Regions from separate parts of the Homo sapiens genome. Here all the other regions are linked to region 1. Evidence: promoter capture Hi-C in 16 types of primary human blood cells and fetal thymus (Javierre and others, 2016). All regions are on one chromosome and are shown on one strand. Each heading gives the region's core, a stretch centred on a gene start or on the middle of the fragment in contact. The rest is flanking DNA. Distances are from core to core; before and after follow the strand shown. Region 1 holds the start of CAPN11 (calpain 11). Region 2 overlaps VEGFA (vascular endothelial growth factor A). Region 3 has its middle 37 kb from the start of VEGFA. Region 4 holds the start of LOC105375069 (a long non-coding RNA gene).

What was found. Contacts are between HindIII fragments. The CHiCAGO score rates a contact against its expected background, and 5 or more counts as called.
Region 2: a contact is called between a fragment that was not itself captured here and the fragment with the promoter of CAPN11 in region 1, in 11 of 17 cell types (naive CD4 T cells, naive B cells, naive CD8 T cells and 8 more). The highest score is 10.6, in naive CD4 T cells.
Region 3: a fragment that was not itself captured here is called in contact with the fragment with the promoter of CAPN11 in region 1 in 11 of 17 cell types (total CD4 T cells, naive CD8 T cells, activated CD4 T cells and 8 more); the score reaches 11.2 in total CD4 T cells.
Region 4: a contact is called between a fragment that was not itself captured here and the fragment with the promoter of CAPN11 in region 1, in 1 of 17 cell types (monocytes). The highest score is 5.2, in monocytes.

The regions. Positions count from the first base shown.
Region 1 is chr6:44,157,466-44,160,165 of GRCh38, forward strand. CAPN11 (calpain 11) reads left to right here and starts at 1,355. Exons shown (of 23, transcript NM_007058.4): 1 at 1,355-1,399. The coding sequence starts at 1,384. LOC107986599 (a long non-coding RNA gene) reads right to left here and starts at 1,138. Exons shown (of 3, transcript XR_002956350.2): 1 at 1,120-1,138. RefSeq lists an enhancer at 2,532-2,700. The HindIII fragment of the contact is 9,288 bases long and covers 1-2,700 here.
Region 2 is chr6:43,774,915-43,777,614 of GRCh38, forward strand. VEGFA (vascular endothelial growth factor A) reads left to right here. Exons shown (of 8, transcript NM_003376.6): 3 at 2,555-2,700. Among named protein-coding and RNA genes, the nearest start is that of VEGFA, 6.1 kb to the left of the region's middle. RefSeq lists an enhancer at 1-132. The HindIII fragment of the contact is 1,590 bases long and covers 607-2,196 here.
Region 3 is chr6:43,731,831-43,734,619 of GRCh38, forward strand. No RefSeq gene overlaps it. Among named protein-coding and RNA genes, the nearest start is that of VEGFA, 37 kb to the right of the region's middle. RefSeq lists a silencer at 1,782-2,076 and an enhancer at 2,180-2,369. The HindIII fragment of the contact is 1,242 bases long and covers 838-2,079 here.
Region 4 is chr6:43,836,084-43,838,947 of GRCh38, forward strand. All of the region lies in intron 1 of LOC105375070 (a long non-coding RNA gene), which reads left to right. LOC105375069 (a long non-coding RNA gene) reads right to left here and starts at 2,716. Exons shown (of 3, transcript XR_001744130.1): 1 at 2,571-2,716; 2 at 1,801-2,329; 3 at 849-928. The HindIII fragment of the contact is 1,539 bases long and covers 668-2,206 here.

The DNA.
Region 1 (2,700 bases), core at 105-2,604:
AGGTCAGGAGTTCGAGACCAGCCTGCCCAACATGGCGAAACCCCGTCTCTACTAAAAATACAAAAATTAGCTGGGCATGGTGGTGGGCACCTGTAATCCCAGCTACTTGAGAGGCTGAGGCAGGAGAATCGCTTGAACCCGGGGGGCAGAGGTTGCAGTGAGCTGAGATTGCACCACTTCACTCCAGCCTGGGCAAAAGAGCGAGACTCCATCTCAAAAAAAAAAAAAAAAAAAAAAATCTGAAGTTATTAGTTTAAATCCTGGCTCGACCGCTTAACAGCTGTGTGACCCTGGGCAAGTTGCATCATACCTCTAGACCTCACTTTCCTCATCTATAAAATGGGAATAGCAATGTCATGGCCTCTGGCTGTTTTAAGGATTAAATAAGTAGGAAGTTCTTAGCCCAGTGTTTGGCACATAATAACAAACCATAATTAATATTCTCGTAGATGAGGAGATTGAGTCCCAGAAAGGAGAAAGGGGGAGGGCTCGCCCAAGGTCAGCTCCTGTTTCAGAGCTTGGAACAAGGTTCTCTGATCCCATTGGGTGCTCTCACACCTGTTCTGTGCCTGATTAGCACCAGGCAGGGCTGAGGGGCACTGGGATGACCTTGACAGTCCCTGTCCTCAGCCATCATACACTCCAGAGAAGACTGCACTCTGGAGCAGAGTTCTTAGCTCAAAGCATTCCCACTTTCCAGTGCAGAGGCAGGACATGTGGTCAGACCAGTGGCCTAACCTTGCCAGACTGGGGCTAGGCAAGGAGAGTGTTGCAGGTGGAATCGTGTCCCCCAAAAAGGCATGTTGAAGTCCTGGCCCCCAGTACTTCAGAATGTGACCTCATTTGGAAACAGGGTGGTTGCAGATGTAATTCGTTCAATTAAGATGAGGTCATACTGAAATGCATGGGACCCTAGCCCCATATGACTGGTGTCCTTATAAGAAGAAGAGACACAGAGGAGGGTGCCATGTGAAGACAGCAACACAGGAAAAATGCCATGTCAGTGAGAAAGGGGCTTTTGGGAATGAGAAGGCTTTCTGGATGTAAAGGTCAGGTTGGTGTGTCAGGGACAACCCCTTCCTGGAAACCTTGGGCTGAAAAAAAGGGACTGGGACCTACCCTGATGGGATGACCGTGATACAGTGAGGACAGCCAGGCTGGTGGAGGCTGTGCAAGGCAGGGGTGCTGGGTCATCTGTCCCTAAAGCGGGTAGCCCTCAGCTGGGTAAGGGGCTGGGTTACTGAGAAGGAGAAAAGGGAAGGCAGCTGTTAAACCGGCTGCTGACCTAGGAATCCCACTGCAATGAGAGAGTTCTGGGGGGAGGGTCTCTTCTCCCCCTCCCACCAGAACCTTCAACTGTCAAGCACCGAGCTAGCCACCAGCATGCTGTACTCCCCAGGTAGGCACTCATGGGGCCTTGCCCCACTCCTGTACCTCCTGCAGGCTAGAGCCTCCCCCCAGGGGAGGAGCTGTGTCCCGCATCAGACTGGGTGCCCCTTGAGGGTACAGAGAGTGACTCTTCCATCAGACTGGATGCCCCTTGAGGGTACAGAGAGTGACTCTTCCATCAGACTGGATGCTCCCTAAGGACAGGACCTGGGCCTCGTTCTCAGACTGTTTGGGGAAGGATAGGCCACTGGTGGTCAGACTGGGTGGTAGGCCGGGCAGGAACTCTTTCTCCTCTCCACTGACAGTTGGAGTTGGGGAGAGGAGAGGGGCCGGCCATCCCACTGTCATGGCTGCTGGGGAAAAGGGTTTGTGTGAAAAAGCCCACGTAGAGAAGAAAACTTTAGGGAACAGAGAGAACCTCTCCTAAGCCTAGAAAAGCAGGTCCCTCAGCCCAGGAAGATGAGATCCTCAGGGTGGCAGGGGCAGGACTACCTGAGGCAAGCCTGGGACCAGACTCCAGGAGATGGGGGAGAGTGGGCTGGGGGGAAGGGGAGGGCTGGGCAGAACTGAGTTGTTCCTGTGGGGCTAGGGTGCACAGAGGGCAGCCAGCCTTGGCCAGCAGAAGGTCAGCCCTGTACCTCACCCTCAGCCTGGGGCACCGTGAGACCATGGGCCCCTAGACCCAGCCTCCCAGCTTCTCAGGCCCTCCCTGTTTACCTGACCCTAGGAAGTTTAGGCCTAGCTGGTGACCCCAAACCCAGTCCTTGTTCTTCAGAAGTGCCCTGAGCCCAGGAGTTCAAGACCAGCCTGGTCAGCATAGCAAGACCTCATCTCAAAATATAATTTATTTATTTATTATTATTACTTATTAGTATTTATTTTTTTTTAAAGTTCCCTGACACAACATCTTAGTTTTTTCCCAGTGCCGGAAATCAAACTGTCCTTAAATCTATAGTCCCCTAATAACAATGTATTGCATTTAGAAAATCACTGAGAGAGGCCAGGCACAGTGGTTCACGCCTGTAATCCTAGCACTCTGGGAGGCCAAGGCAGGTGGATCATCTGAGGTCAGGAGTTCGAGACCAGCCTGGCCAACATAGTGAAACCGTGTCTCTACTAAAATACAAAAATTAGCCATGCGTGGTGGCGGGCGCCTGTAATCCCAGCTACTCGGGAGGCTGAGGCAGGAGAATCTCTTGAACCCAGCAAGTGGAGGTTGCAGTGAGCCGAGATCGTGCCACCGCACCCCAAGCCTGGGCGACACAGCGAGACTCCATCTCAAAAAAAAAAGAAAATCACTGACAGTAGATT
Region 2 (2,700 bases), core at 152-2,651, 380 kb before region 1:
TTCCCTCCCAGGCCAGCAGAGGGCTGGCTGTAGCTCCCAGGCGCCCCGCCCCCCTGCCCAACCCCGAGTCCGCCTGCCTTTTGTTCCGTTGTGGTTTGGATCCTCCCATTTCTCTGGGGACACCCTGGCTCTCCCCACCACTGACTGTGGCCTGTGCTCTCCACCTCTGGGGAGGGAAGGCCCTGGGGTCTTCCTTCCCGCGAGTTTCCCTGACCTAAATCTGGCGTGGCTGGGTAGTGGCCAGCAGTGGTGATGCCCAGCCTGTTCTGCCTCCTCCTTCCCCACCCCAGGAGCCCTTTCCTTGGCCTAGGACCTGGCTTCTCAGCCACTGACCGGCCCCCTGCTTCCAGTGCGCCACTTACCCCTTCCAGCTTCCCAGTGGTCTCTGGTCTGGGAGAGGCAGGACAAAGGTCTTTGTTTGCTGGAGAAAAGGTTGTCTGCGATAAATAAGGAAAACCACGAAAGCCTGGTTGTTGGAGTGTACGTGTGTGCTCCCCCAGGCAGTGGAGGCCAGCCCTCCTTGGAGGGGCGGCTGCCTGATGAAGGATGCGGGTGAGGTTCCCCGCCTCCACCTCCCATGGGACTTGGGGATTCATTCCAAGGGGAAGCTTTTTGGGGGAATTCCTACCCCAGGTCTTTTTACCCTCAGTTACCAACCCCTTGCCCAGGCCAGACCTTCCTGCTATCCCCTCCTGGGCCACAAGCCTGGCCCTCCTCTGTCCCAATTGTGATGAAGGGGCAGTTCAAAACTTCTTGATTAGTCATCTTCTCCCCTATCGACTTGGCTTTAAAAAATGACCTTTTCAGACTTCTAGTCTCGTTCACTCTTTTTGATGATGCTTTGCCGTAACCCTTCGTGGGTAGAGAAGGATTCTGTGCCCATTGGTGGTCTGGATAAAAGAAATAGAGACCTCACAGGAAGCAGTGGACTGGCCTGTTTCCCCACTGTTCTTTCTGTTTTCACACCTGTGGCCTTCTCCCCACCTTCTTCCCAATCAACCTATTGTGTACATAGCCCCCCTCATTGTCCTTTATTCTTCTGGAAAGCAGACCTTGGAGGGAGGAGTGAGGGGGAGGCTCAGCTGTGGTCTCTGGGGGGTGGGGGTTGGGAGCTGGGGTGGAAGTCCACGAAGCATACACTTAAGATGCTTTGGTGAAGTTCTAAACTTCATATTACCCAGGCTGAAAAAAGAGCACTTGTTCCTAGGGCTGGAAATGGAAGCCAAAACACCACCTTTTTCAGCCTGTTTCAGCATCTTTAGAGATCAGCCCAACCCACTTACACAGTTGAGCAGAGTTGGAGGCCTAGAGAGGGGAGGGACTGGCCCAAGGTCATACCAACTCATGGCCAGAGCCTGGGCCTCCTCACTGGCCAGGTGTTATTTCTTCCCTCTGGGTAGGGAACCTATTTCAGGGACAGGATTGCTATGTGGTAGTGGTGGTGGGGTGCGATAGGCGTGGCAGGCTGGGCCACAATTTGGAGTAGTCATGCCAGAGTCCTGCATTTATTTATTCTCAAGGGCCCCGCCTCTGTGGCCCAGAATTACCCCTTCATGCTCCAGTGCACCCCAGGCTTCGTGGCCAGCCTGGGAAACTGTCTCTACCCTGGTCTCCCTTCAGATCAGCTTCTAGAAATGTTTCGTGGCTACAGTGGCAGCACTGTTTTTTCCATGATGCAAGCAGTTTGCCCTCTTGGGCGGGGTTATCAGTGGCTGGCAGGGCTGGCACAGCGTGTCCGCCCACTGCCACCTGTGGGTTCCAGGAGGGCCCAGCCCCTGTGCTGATGCCCACCACCTTCTCAGCTCATGTCTGGGGAAGAGGACTGGCAGGGGGAAAGGTGCCTCCTCCTGAAAGGTGCCTCCTCTGTTTTTGCCTAATATAGGCTTGGGAACACTTTGATGTCAGCTAATTCTGACTCCTTTACTTACTAGCTGTGCGGCCTTGGGGCAACTTACTTAGCCTCTTTGAGCCTCCTGTTCCCCATCTGTAAAATGGAATCTCAATAGTGTCTAATAGTACCATGTGGAGAAACTTGTGTGAAATGATAGCTGTGGACTACTGTACACAGTACTCAGGATGTAGTAAGTGCTCAATAAACAGCTGTTGGTATGGTTGACGTTATGGTAGTGGTTGTGGGGAGGACGTAGGAAACTGGAGACTAGCTTGGCAAAGCTGGCTCTTCCTCCTTTTAGGGAAAGCTTAGAGCATCCCCATGGGGTATACCCATACTCAGACTGTCCTCTGGCATCGAGGTTGGCCCAGGATTCAGTTCAGCTGTCACAGTGAGGTGGCGGGATCAGATGTGGCAGGCCATGTCCCTTGGAACTTGAGTACATCGTGTGATCTCTGGAATGAAAACAGGCCTTCACCAGTGTTGATGGTGGAAAGCTTAGGGAAGTGCTTCAAACACAGTAGGAGGGACTTACGTTAGATTTTGGAAGGACTTGCCTGATTCGGAAGCTCCAAAGAGTGGCATTACAGAGCTGGGTGGAGAGAGGGGCTAGCCATCTTTTGTGTCGCCCACCGGGCTCATGTGTCATCGCCTCTCATGCAGTGGTGAAGTTCATGGATGTCTATCAGCGCAGCTACTGCCATCCAATCGAGACCCTGGTGGACATCTTCCAGGAGTACCCTGATGAGATCGAGTACATCTTCAAGCCATCCTGTGTGCCCCTGATGCGATGCGGGGGCTGCTGCAAT
Region 3 (2,789 bases), core at 209-2,708, 430 kb before region 1:
TTGGTTCTTTGAAAAGGTCAACAAAATTGACAAACCTTTAGCTAGATTGACTAAGAAAAAGAGAGAAGACTCAAGCTACTAAAATCAGACATGAAAGTGGAGACATTACTACTGATCTTATAGACATAGAAAGGATTATAAGATAATACTATGAACAATTACACACCAACCAATTAGATGACTTAGATGAAATGGACAAATTCCTGGAAACACAAACTATCAAAACCAACTTAAAAGGAAATAGAAAACTTGAATAGAGATATAACAAGTGAAGAGATTGAATCAGCAATCAAAAACCTCCCAACAAATAAGAGTCCAGGACTAGATATCTTCACTGGTGAATTCTACCTAACATGTAAAGAAAAATTGACACCAATCCTTCTCAAACTCTTCCAAAACATTGAAGAGGAGAGAACCTTTCCAACTCATTCTGTGATGCCAACGTTACCCTGATACCAAGCCAAAGACACTACAAGAAAACTATAGGCCAACATACCTTAAGCATAGAGATGCAAACATCCTCAACAAAAAACTGGCAAACCAAATTTAGCAGCATATTAAAAGGATTACACACCATGACCAAGTGGGATTTATCCCCATAATGTAAGGATGGTTTAACATACAAAAATCAGTCAATATAATGTACTACATTAATAGAATGAAGGAAAAAAGAGCCATACACAATTGTTTCAGTTGATGCAGAAAAAGCATTTGAGAAAATACAAAAATTTCTTGATTAAAAACACTTAATAAACTAGGAATAGAACTTCCTTAACATGAAAAAGTTGTATATGAAAAACCCACAGCTAACATCATATTCAATGGCAAAAGATTGAAAGCTTTCCCCCTACAATCAGGACAAGATAAGAATGGCTGCTTTTGTCACTTCTATTCAACACAGTAATGGAAGTTCTAGCCAGAGCAATTAGGCAAGAAATAAAAGGCACCCAGATTGGAAAGAAAGAAATAAAATGATCTCTGTTTGCAGATGATATGGATAAAATACCAAAATTTAAGAGCTAAAACTGTAAAACTCTTAAAAAAAAAGTGAGCCAGGTGTGGTGGTTCATGCCTGTCACCCCAGCATTTTGGGAGGCTGAGGTGGGAGGACTGCTTGAGCCCAGAGTTTGAGACTAGCCTGGGCAGTATAGTGGGACCTCATCTCTACAAATGAAACCAAACAGGGGAAAATCTTCAAGGCCTTGGATTTGGCAATGGTTTCTTTAGTATGACACCAAAAACACAGGCAACAAAGGAAAAATATAGATAAATTGGACTTCATCAAAATTAAAAACTGCCACTAAATTGTACACTTAAAATAGTTAAAATGGTGACTATTTATGTTATACATATTTTACCATAATAAAAAAAGTGAAAAAGAAAATAAAACAACCTAAACTAGGAAACACCCCATAACCTCCCAAATCCAATTTAAATGTTTATTGTCCTAGAAGACTCTCCTGGTTCTCCTTTTCCCCTTCAACACCTGTCCACTGTGCCCCTCCTCCAGGGACTCATTGTACCTCATACATCTCTTTTTGAAACTCTTCCTGCTTGTAAGGTCATTATTTGTTTACAGGTTGGTTACAAGTTGGCTCTGTCCCCCTATCCCATGATAACCCCCTCCAGGCAGTGTAGTCTGGGTTCACATTTCCACTCTCCCTAAGGTTAAGTTCCTTAACCACTCTGGGCTGCTATATCCTCATCCATAAAATAGGGGAGATGATGGCACCTACCTCGTAGGGCTGTGGTGAGGAGTCAGCAAGGTCATGCACTAAACTTCTTACTTAGAAGGATGCCTGCTACATTCAACCAATGTTTGCTATTATTATATGGGCCTGGCAAAAGGCAAATGGCTAGACAGGTTGTAAAATGAATGCTCAGTGACACTCCCTGCTCTCCTCCCTGCCATCCTTGGGGCTGTACATGTATATTTGAATGTCCAACACGGGGAGAGGAGGGAGCAAGGCCTTTGCACCTCTTCCCTGGCCCTGCCCTCTGATCCTGGCTCAATCCCCCTCCCTCCACACTTCGAATTGGCCCGGGTCCCTGCTGGGCTGGAGTGGGAAAGATTAGACAAGCTTCCCTCCACCCTGTCCTTGGGGTGTTGTCCCCAGTGGCAGGAGAAGCCCCACTCTTCTCCCTTCTCTCTGGCTTTTGCCTGTCTCCAAAGTGGGCCTTTGGGAGTGCCCAAGTTGGGGAGGATGGGAAGAACTCGGATTTGGGGGTTAGAGTCAGTCACTATCACATCAATCAGGGCCCTTTCATCAGCCGGAAACTGCTACATCCGGCTGCCCCAACAAGTTCAGACGGGGGTTCCCTGCCCTTCCCCAGCTTACCCTTCTTGCCCCCCTTCCCCAGCTGACAGTCACTCTCACCCTTCCCCGGATGTAAGGGACAGGCTGGGGCAAGCCAGGGACACACTCAGTTTCCCTTCCCTGCTGCCCCTCCCTGGCGTGACATTTACCTCTTCCCCCTCCTCCTCTCCCCACCCCTCCCCCTGCCCCAGCCCATCTGCCATAAGTCCCCAGGACCTGGCTAAGGCAGGGGCCTGGAGGTGAAATCAGGAGTCCACCTGCGGCTGACTGATTGGGCCTGAGCTCCTCGGGCAAGGTGCTTCAGTTAGAACCCTGGGACAGCAAGCCTGGGGGGAGGCCCGGAGCACACAGAGGGAAAGGGACCAGCCCAGGGCCATAGAGTGCTGAGCCAGGACCAGAACCCAGAGCTCTGGGTGCCTCCTTTTCTTTCCTTTATCCCCACAGCCTCAGTTTCCCTCTCTGTCTACTGTC
Region 4 (2,864 bases), core at 187-2,686, 320 kb before region 1:
CAAGTTTACAGTTGCCCAGAACTCTATAAACACACTTGGTGAGCATGTGTGCGTATGTGAGTGCCTGTGCGGGTGAGTGTCCCCTGACATCTGACTGTCACCCCTGCTGGGCGGCCCTGACCTTCCTGACCTTGTGAGAAAGGAGAGAAGATGCTAAGCTGAGTGACTTTGCTCTCTTGGGCCTGGTGACACCTACTGAAGGGGTCCGTAAGCCTGGGCTATGTGGGACCCTGGGGGCCCTGTAGGCTTCCTTGGGAGGAAGGCCTTGAGGGGATCCTGGAGAGTGGGGAGGAGGAAGGGCATTCCAGGCCTGGGGAACTGCAGGAGCAAGGAGGTGTGTGTGTGTGTGTGTGTGTGAAAGAGAGAGATCGGAGCAGGAAAGGGCGAGCCTTACAAGAAAGAGAAACTTTGGGGAAGCCTTTAGATCTGACCTGATAGTTCGTAGAGACATATTGAAACCCTGTCTGGCACACAGGCCCCACGTGCTTATTATCATTAGTAATTATGACACGACACAGAGGTATTCCCTGGTTTGGTGACTGGGTAGCCTGAGCCCTCCATATTCTGGCCAGTGCTGAACATGGCTGGCATTAGGGATAGCTTGTGGTCTCAATTAGGGGCCAGCAGTGGCCAGGGTTAGGGGTCAAGTGGTAGCCAGGGTAAAGCAAGCTTGTAGTCAAGATAAAGGGTCAGCTGTGGTTATGACTGGCTGTTGATAAGTGGTTGGGGCTAGAGGTCAGATACTGACAATGAACAGTTTTCTATGTATGATGCTAACTGCTCTGGAAGCAGCTCACCTTATCTCGGAGGCATAATGAAGAGGCAGGAGCATTTGTCTGAGAACTAAGAAGACTTGGGTGTTAGCCCTTGTTCTACTCACTTATTCGCTGGGTGAGTTGCTTCACTTCTTTGAACGTCAGTCTTCCCTCTGCGGGAAAGTAACAATGCATGCCCTCCTGCCTTACAGTATGTGAGGTATTTGTTTCTGGGTATCCTATTATTAAATGTGATTAAATAATCATTAATAGCAACACAGCCTTTCCAATCTCACCCTGCCAGGCCTGTAGGTAAACCCTCAGTGTTGGCTGAGGGTAGGTTGGGGGAGTGGTTAAATAATGGTCCACAGACTTGGCCACTCATTGGAATTACCTGGACATTTACAAGAGCATACTGATGCCTGACTTACTCCAACCCTCCTGCATTCTGAATTAATTTATATGGGGTGACCAGGGCATCAGATGTTTTTTTAGACAAGGTCTCAGTCTGTCCCCCAGGCTGGAGTGCAGTGGCACGATCACGGCTCACTACAGGCTCGACCTCTTGGGTTCAATTCTCCCACCTTAGCCTCCCAAGTAGCACCAAGGACTATAGGTGCATGCCACTATACCCGGCTAATTTTTAAATTTTTAATAGAGACAAGGTCTCACTCTATTGCCTAGGCTGGTTTTAAACTCCTGAGCTCAAGCCATCTTCCCGTCTTGGCCTCCCAAAGTGCTGAGATTACAGGTGTGAGCCACTGTGCCCAGCCATGCATCAGAATTTTTGAAAGTTCCCCAGGTGATTCTAATGGGCAGCCAAGTTTGAAAACCACTGGGTAAAAGCCAGTACAAATGAACTAAAGAGAATGAGTCTTTAAGCAGCAACCTGAGCTGTAGATAAACCAACCAGCTGAATCCATGCCGCATTTCTGTGGGGAGCTGAGATGGGACAGCAGCAAGAGGCTTGGGGAGAACTTTCTCACTTAACCCTCTCCATACCTCTGTGTCTTCATTTGTCAAATGGGGTTATCTTTATACTTACCTCACAAAGGTTGTACTTTATAATAATCAGCCCCAGCCAGCCAAGAGATGTTGACTGAATATTGGGGACTGGAGTGGAGAAAGCAAGGTCCCTGGAACTTCCCTTCAGCGCTGCCTTACCCGAACTTTTTGAGGATAGTCTGAAGCCTGGGGATGGACAACATGACCTTGATGAACCTGGAATCTCCTGGCCCTGAAGAGGATCTTTGGCATATATGTCCCCTGTTTCAAACATCGTCCCCCTCAAATGCACTCACATTCATTTCATCACGTCTTTCATTTTTTTGTTCATTTCAGAAAATACCATCCCCATACTAACCTGTAGGACAGGTGGGGGATGGGGAGATGGAGTTCCATCACCTCTGGCTCTTTCCAGGGTTGGGATGGGATGTTATGGAGCCCCTGGAAGCTTCAGCTGAGGGTTGGGGGCAGCTCCTGGCCAGGTTTCCAGTGTCTTGGTCCTCCGGGGAAAATGAAGTTTTCTTTTGTGGTCTGTGTGTCTTTAAGACTTGAAGGCTGTGGGGACCTGACTGGGGAAAATTCCAACCAGTGGGTTCCTTTGAAATGGAAGTGACATCTAGTGGTCTGAAAAAGAACTGCCAAGTTGACCCCCCCCAGCCCCAGGCTGCCCCTGGGGTCCCTTCCCTGGCCCCAGGTCACTTTCCTGCTGGGCCACAACCCTGCTTGAGGGCAGTCTAAGTCCTGACAGTGGGCTTTTGGTGGCAGGGTGACTCTCTTGGCCCTGCCCAGGCTGGAACCCAGGCCAGGTACCTGCACTCAGGTCCAGACACAGAGAGGCCAGGCCCAGGGCAGCCAGAAGAGGCCCAAATATGCCAGGGCTGCAACATCGCGTCCCCAGGTGAGGTGGAATCCTTGGGTCTCGTGTCTGTTGATTCTGAGGAGCCCTGTCCTGAGTCTTCCACAGAAGTCAGAGTGCTGTGCAGGCCTCAGTGCTGAATCATCCTGTGGCCAGGCTGCTGTTATGCAATGATCCCGCCGTGGGTCCACTGGTGTCAGCGGCTGGCCTTCAGCCTCCCCTTCAGGGAGGCAAGGGGCTTTGGGCGG